2 separate regions of the Homo sapiens genome follow, and region 1 is linked to region 2. Evidence: promoter capture Hi-C in 16 types of primary human blood cells and fetal thymus (Javierre and others, 2016). All regions are on one chromosome and are shown on one strand. Each heading gives the region's core, a stretch centred on a gene start or on the middle of the fragment in contact. The rest is flanking DNA. Distances are from core to core; before and after follow the strand shown. Region 1 holds the start of RANBP6 (RAN binding protein 6). Region 2 holds the start of RCL1 (RNA terminal phosphate cyclase like 1).

The links. The method cuts DNA at HindIII sites, captures the fragments that hold promoters and counts their contacts. A CHiCAGO score of 5 or more calls a contact.
Region 1: a fragment that was not itself captured here is called in contact with the fragment with the promoter of RCL1 in region 2 in 1 of 17 cell types (fetal thymus); the score reaches 5.2 in fetal thymus.

What each region holds. Positions count from the first base shown.
Region 1 is chr9:6,012,965-6,016,508 of GRCh38, reverse strand. It overlaps RANBP6 (RAN binding protein 6), which reads left to right and starts at 885. Exons shown (of 1, transcript NM_012416.4): 1 at 885-3,544. The coding sequence starts at 902. RefSeq lists an enhancer at 1,007-1,066. The HindIII fragment of the contact is 2,610 bases long and covers 1-2,580 here.
Region 2 is chr9:4,791,083-4,794,518 of GRCh38, reverse strand. It overlaps RCL1 (RNA terminal phosphate cyclase like 1), which reads right to left and starts at 1,575. Exons shown (of 9, transcript NM_005772.5): 1 at 1,292-1,575. The coding sequence starts at 1,427. RefSeq lists enhancers at 825-1,324, 1,399-1,448, 2,269-2,318 and a silencer at 1,529-1,888. The HindIII fragment of the contact is 3,785 bases long and covers 468-3,436 here.

The DNA of each region.
Region 1 (3,544 bases), core at 26-2,525, 1.2 Mb before region 2:
TTCACCAATTTAAATTTAACAACTCAATGGTTTTTAGTATAATCACAGAATTGTGCAACCATCACAATTAATTTTAGAACATTTCATCACTCAGAAAGAAACACCCTATTTGATAGCAGTCATTCTCTATCCTCCCCTCCCCCCAACCTCTGGCAACCACTAATTTCTGTTATACAATTTGCCTGTTTGGTACCTTTCATACAAATGGAATCATACAATATGTGGTTGTGACTGGTTTCTTTCACTTGGCATGTTTTCAAGATAGACTTATTGTTTTAAAATTATCAAAGTAACAATATAGTTTAGAAATAAAAGAAAAAAATCACTCATAATCTGACCAGAAGCAGTGGCTCACACCTGTATTCCCAGTACTTCGGGAGGCCGAGGCGGGCAGATCACCTGAGCCCAGGAGTTCGAGACCAGCCTGGGCAACATGGCGAAACCCTGTCTCTATAAAAAACACAATTAGCCGGGCGTGGTGGCGCGCGCCTGTGGTCCCAGCTACTGGGGGAACTGAGGCGGGGAGGATCGCTTGAGCCCAGGAGGTTGAGGCTGCAGTGAGCAGGGATCGCGCCGCTATACTCCAGCCTAGGTGACACAGCCAGACCTTGTATCCAAAAAAAAAAAAAGTCATGATCCCATTCTAATCAATGCTTTTCTTCTCTCGCCTGCAAGTGCACGTTTATCTTATTGAAAAACAAATGGAGGATGCCATTGGCCTCCACACGGCTCTCACCTCTCTCCAAAACCTAGCTCGCAGCCTGCCAGAGCGCAGCTAGAGTTTCTGGGCAGAGGAGGGAGAAGCACCCCGCCCATCCCCGCCGGCGCCTCGCCTACGTCACTGCTTCGAGCCGCAGACCCCCTCCCTCCTTCCCGGTCGCGGTAGCTTTGACAGAGCGCAATGGCGGCAACCGCGTCTGCAGGGGTGCCGGCGACCGTGTCAGAAAAGCAAGAGTTTTACCAGCTTCTGAAGAACCTGATCAATCCAAGCTGTATGGTGCGGAGGCAAGCAGAGGAAATCTATGAAAATATCCCAGGTCTGTGTAAGACTACCTTCCTCTTAGATGCCGTCAGAAATAGAAGAGCAGGTTATGAGGTGAGACAAATGGCTGCCGCACTGCTACGACGGCTTTTGTCCTCTGGGTTTGAGGAGGTTTATCCAAATCTGCCTGCTGATGTTCAGAGAGATGTCAAGATTGAACTGATTCTGGCTGTTAAGTTAGAAACACATGCTAGCATGAGGAAAAAACTTTGTGATATTTTTGCAGTGCTGGCCAGGAATTTGATAGATGAGGATGGCACTAACCACTGGCCGGAAGGTCTGAAGTTTCTTATTGATTCAATCTACTCCAAAAATGTGGTTCTATGGGAAGTTGCACTTCACGTTTTCTGGCACTTTCCTGGGATTTTTGGGACCCAAGAGCGGCATGATTTGGATATCATCAAACGGTTGTTGGACCAGTGTATTCAAGATCAAGAACATCCAGCAATCAGGACATTATCCGCTAGAGCTGCAGCTGCATTTGTACTTGCTAATGAGAATAATATTGCTCTTTTCAAAGACTTTGCAGACTTGCTTCCTGGAATCTTACAGGCTGTGAATGACTCATGCTACCAGGATGATGATTCAGTGCTAGAATCCCTTGTTGAGATTGCAGATACCGTACCTAAGTACTTGGGTCCTTATTTAGAAGATACTCTACAGTTGAGTTTGAAGTTATGTGGAGACTCTAGGCTTAGTAATCTGCAGCGCCAGCTGGCCCTCGAAGTTATAGTGACCTTGTCTGAAACTGCCACTCCGATGTTGAAAAAACATACAAATATTATTGCACAGGCAGTTCCTCATATATTAGCAATGATGGTTGATCTACAAGATGATGAGGACTGGGTAAATGCTGATGAAATGGAAGAAGATGATTTTGACAGCAATGCAGTTGCTGCGGAGAGTGCACTAGACAGACTGGCTTGTGGGCTTGGTGGAAAAGTTGTTTTACCAATGACCAAGGAGCATATCATGCAGATGCTTCAGAGCCCTGACTGGAAGTATCGACATGCTGGATTAATGGCCTTATCTGCCATTGGAGAAGGATGCCATCAACAAATGGAATCAATTCTAGATGAAACAGTTAACTCCGTTTTGCTTTTTCTTCAGGATCCTCATCCAAGGGTGAGGGCTGCAGCCTGTACTACACTTGGACAGATGGCTACAGATTTTGCACCTAATTTCCAAAAGAAATTTCATGAAACAGTGATTGCAGCTCTGTTACGTACCATGGAAAATCAAGGTAATCAGCGTGTGCAATCACATGCAGCTTCTGCTCTTATTATTTTTATTGAAGACTGCCCTAAATCATTGCTAGTTCTATATGTGGATAGTATGGTGAAAAATCTACATTCCGTCTTGGTGATTAAACTTCAAGAGTTGATTCGGAATGGAACTAAGTTGGCTTTGGAACAACTTGTGACAACCATTGCATCAGTTGCAGATACAATAGAAGAAAAATTTGTCCCATATTATGATATATTCATGCCCTCACTAAAGCACATTGTTGAGCTTGCTGTTCAGAAGGAACTCAAGCTTCTGAGAGGAAAAACTATCGAGTGCATTAGCCATATTGGTCTTGCTGTTGGGAAGGAAAAATTTATGCAAGATGCATCAAATGTGATGCAGCTGTTGTTGAAGACACAATCAGACTTAAATAATATGGAAGATGATGACCCTCAGACCTCTTACATGGTTTCAGCATGGGCTAGAATGTGTAAAATTCTTGGAAAAGATTTTCAACAGTACCTTCCACTGGTTATCGAGCCTCTTATTAAGACTGCTTCAGCTAAACCTGATGTTGCTCTCTTAGACACACAGGATGTGGAAAATATGAGTGACGATGATGGCTGGCAATTTGTAAATCTTGGAGACCAGCAGAGTTTTGGAATTAAAACTTCAGGACTTGAAGCAAAAGCAACTGCTTGCCAAATGTTGGTTTACTATGCTAAGGAGTTAAGGGAAGGGTTTGTGGAATATACAGAACAAGTTGTGAAGCTGATGGTTCCTTTACTGAAATTTTATTTCCATGACAATGTTCGAGTGGCAGCAGCAGAGTCCATGCCTTTTCTCCTGGAATGTGCAAGAATTCGTGGCCCAGAGTATCTTGCACAGATGTGGCAATTCATATGTGACCCCTTAATCAAGGCTATTGGTACTGAACCAGATACAGATGTGCTCTCAGAAATAATGAATTCTTTTGCAAAGTCCATTGAAGTTATGGGAGATGGTTGCCTTAATGATGAACACTTGGAAGAACTGGGAGGAATACTGAAAGCAAAACTTGAAGGGCACTTTAAAAACCAAGAATTGAGACAGGTGAAAAGACAGGAAGAAAACTATGATCAACAGGTTGAGATGTCTCTGCAAGATGAGGATGAATGTGATGTTTATATTCTGACCAAAGTATCAGATATTTTGCACTCATTATTTAGTACTTATAAGGAAAAGATTTTACCATGGTTTGAACAACTACTTCCATTAATTGTAAATCTAATTTGT
Region 2 (3,436 bases), core at 326-2,825:
ATCAAGCAAACACTTTGCCCAAGGGTCAAACTAAGTGGAACACTTGTTGACGGAAAAGTCGTGGCATAAACCATTTGTGGTCTCTCCCTAACTTTCTCAGTGTTTTTGAGCAGTAGAGAGAGGACAGGAACCACCAACACAAGTTTTTCCTACCATCACTAGGTTTCTCACCACTGTACCTGGGATATTCTGCTTCTTTCCTTCCTAACCTATCTCCGTCAATAGCATGGCATCTTCTGCCCTTTATGTGCAGCCAATCACCACCCAAGAGAGGCAGAGATCTAACTATCCAAAAAATGCATTCAGACAGATAAAACAAGAGCCAGTGCAAAATGAAACACATCAGCGCCGCTCAGGAAGCTTCCAGGACCAACCACAAACACTCTTTTTCAATTTACAGACAGGTTTTTTCCTTTTTCACCTGACTACTGACTCGCCCAACTTGGGATAACCACCAGTCAGAAGCTTTTAAATGCATGTATCTCATGCCAGGGGGCCAGGTGTAAACCAAGGCCAGTTGAAAACCGGCGCCATTTAATGAGATGTGGGTTTAAATGGGCCTATTTCTTTTTAACCTACCATTGCAGAGCAAGAAGTGAGCTTGGAAGCCTGCAGTTTAGCGATTGTCACCGACCCCTTTTCTAAAGTCAAGGCAATTAGGCCCATGACTGTTAAAAGTCTATCTCAAAGCTCCTGTCCTGCGCACATCAATCACAGTCACGGCTGAAAACAAACACAGAATTTTAAAAATTTCTTTATCCACACCCAAGGACAAGTGTGAGGGCAGCCGAGAAATCATGGCGACAGGAACAGCCGGTGTCCAAGGGGGCAGCTGCTTCTGAGAACTGCTTTGAGACAGGGCAGAGAACCAACCCAAGGTACTTTTCTCTCCCAATGTCTCTCCCCCGGCTCATTCACCATATTTCGGTCCAACAAACTGTTTTTCTCCTTTGAGAGGTTTATGGCGAGGGCAAGAGGGGCCGAAGGGACGCGAAGGGGCGACGCCAGGGATTTGTTGCTACACGTAAAGCTGGAAAACGTGCAGCTGTTTACTACCAGCGCCCCGGAGACGCCGAGCGCAGCTTGCAGCTGAGCGCTCCCCTCGGGCCCCGACCCCGCCTCCCCCACTGTGCCTGCCCCTCCGGCTTTGGAGGCGACGCGCCACCTGCCCTCCCCGACGCGCTCGCCGGACGCCGAGCCGCCCAACCAACACCGCGCGGGCCCCCACGGCATCAGCTCGGTCTCCCCTCAGCCCCCGCGCCCACGCCGCGCGCCGCCCACACCAAGTTACCTCGGAGGCCCGGGTTGTCGTCTCTGGCCCGAATCTTTCGGATTTTGACGGGGCGCCCGCTCAGGGTAGACAGGACCAGACGTTGGCGCAAGAAGTTGCACCCTGCGTAGCTGAGGGAGTGCGCCTGAGTCGCCATGTGCGCGCTCTCCGAAGAGACGTGAGCAGCCCGAGAGCGGCGACTTCGGACAGACGCGGGACTCGTGACTCCGATGGTGGTGGTGGCGGCGACACCGACGGCGGCGGCTCGGGCTGCCTCCAGCAGCCCAGACGCGTCCACGTGGTTTGGAACAGGAAGACGGAGAGACTAGACACCGGGTCAGAGGGGAGCGGGGCGGAGCCAGTGGCCACCTCCCCGCCTCCCCGCCCGACCGGGGCGGCCCCCGCTTCGGGCCACGCCGCTATTGGCCCGCGCCGGATCAGGGCGGTGCCCGCGCCGCGCCTCCATTGGCTTCCGCTGAAGCTGGGCGGTGCCCAAGCCGCGCTGCCATTGGTCCGTAGTGGAGCTGGGCGGTGCCCGGGCCCTGGCAACAGCGCGCGGCTGGAGGGAACGCGGGAGGATGGCCAGGGAACCCCGGCGCGGGAGTTGCCAGTCGGGGCAGTCTCCTCTGTGTACCTCCTGGCGTGGTAGCAAGGGGAGATGGCGGACTGAGATTGATGCCTACGACGTGCCGGATTCTTAGCATTACTACTTACGGCAACTACTGGGGTGAAGATGCTATTATCTACCCCTCCTCTTTCTTACTAAGAGAGACAACAAGGGTTGGTGCACTCACCCTATCGCAGGGATGCCGCTCAGCGCACTGCCGGCGCAGTCCCGCAGCTCCATGCTGTAACCCTGCAAGGTAGAGCCATCCTGTCCTACTCATGGATAAAGGCTCGAGGAATATTGCAAAGCTGACAGTGGCAGCCTATACTGAGACCCGAATCCTCCCACAGCAGGCCGTTGCTTATTTTATTGAGACACCTCTTTGCCCCTTTCTCACGGGTCCCTTCGTTTATCGTCATTGCGTTTCATGGCAATTCAGGCCCTCCTACCTCGCATGCTTCAAGATAGATAGTTGTAATAACTTCACACACACACACGCGCGCAATGCTTTTTCCCTCTTTCCCGTCCTCCTCCAATCCTGCACAAGAAAATCTTCCCAAACGTTGGATTATTTCACTTCTCTACTCAAAAACCTTCCAAAATGTACAGTTAACTAACAAATGACTACACAAGTAGAAGTCCGATATCATAGTAATGTGGGTTTGTAGCCATTCCTGGACAACACTCACCAAACCATGAGTCCCAGAATGCACGGGGGTTCGCGGGGGGAAGGGGGGCGGGGTATGATAGTGTCTGAAAGCGGTGGGAGTTTAAGATTAAGGGATGTAGCTAGCCTTATGTAGACAACAGTGTGTTATAAAGTGGAGTGGAGTGGCATGCTCATGACTCACTGCAGCCTCAACTTCCCGAGTTCTAGTAATCCTCCAACCTCAGCCTCCCCATTAGCTGGAACTACAGGTGTGCACCACCATGCTCAGCTAATTTTTGTATTTTGTATAGACATGGGTTTTTGCCATGTTACCCAGGCTGGTCTCAAACTTCTAACCTCAAGCGATTGGCCCACCTTGGCCTCACAAGTGTGAGCCACCACTCCCAGCCTTTAATCCATTTTTCTTTGATTTTTGTAAATGGCAAGAGATAGAGATCTAGTTTCACTCTTTTGCATATGGATATCCAATTTTCTCAGCATCATTTATTGAAGAGACTGTCCTTTCCCCAGAGTATGTTCTTGGCAACTTTGTCGAAAATGAGTTTACCGTAGCTGTGTGGATTTATCTCTGCGTTCTCCGCTCTGTTCTACTGATCTATGTGTCTGTTTTTATGCCAGTACCATGCCATTTTGTTTACTCTAGCTCTGTAGTATAATTTGAAGTCAGGTAATGTGATTCCTCCAGTTTTGTTCTTTTTGCTTAGGACAGGTTTGGCTATTCTGGGTCTTTTGTGGTTCCATATAATTTTTTTAATTTTTAATTTTTGTAGGTAGATGGTACATGTATATATGAGGTACGGGAGAAGTTTTGATACAGGCATGCAATGTGTGATAATCACATCCTGAAGGATAGGGTACTCATCCCCTCATGCATTTTATTCTTTGTGTT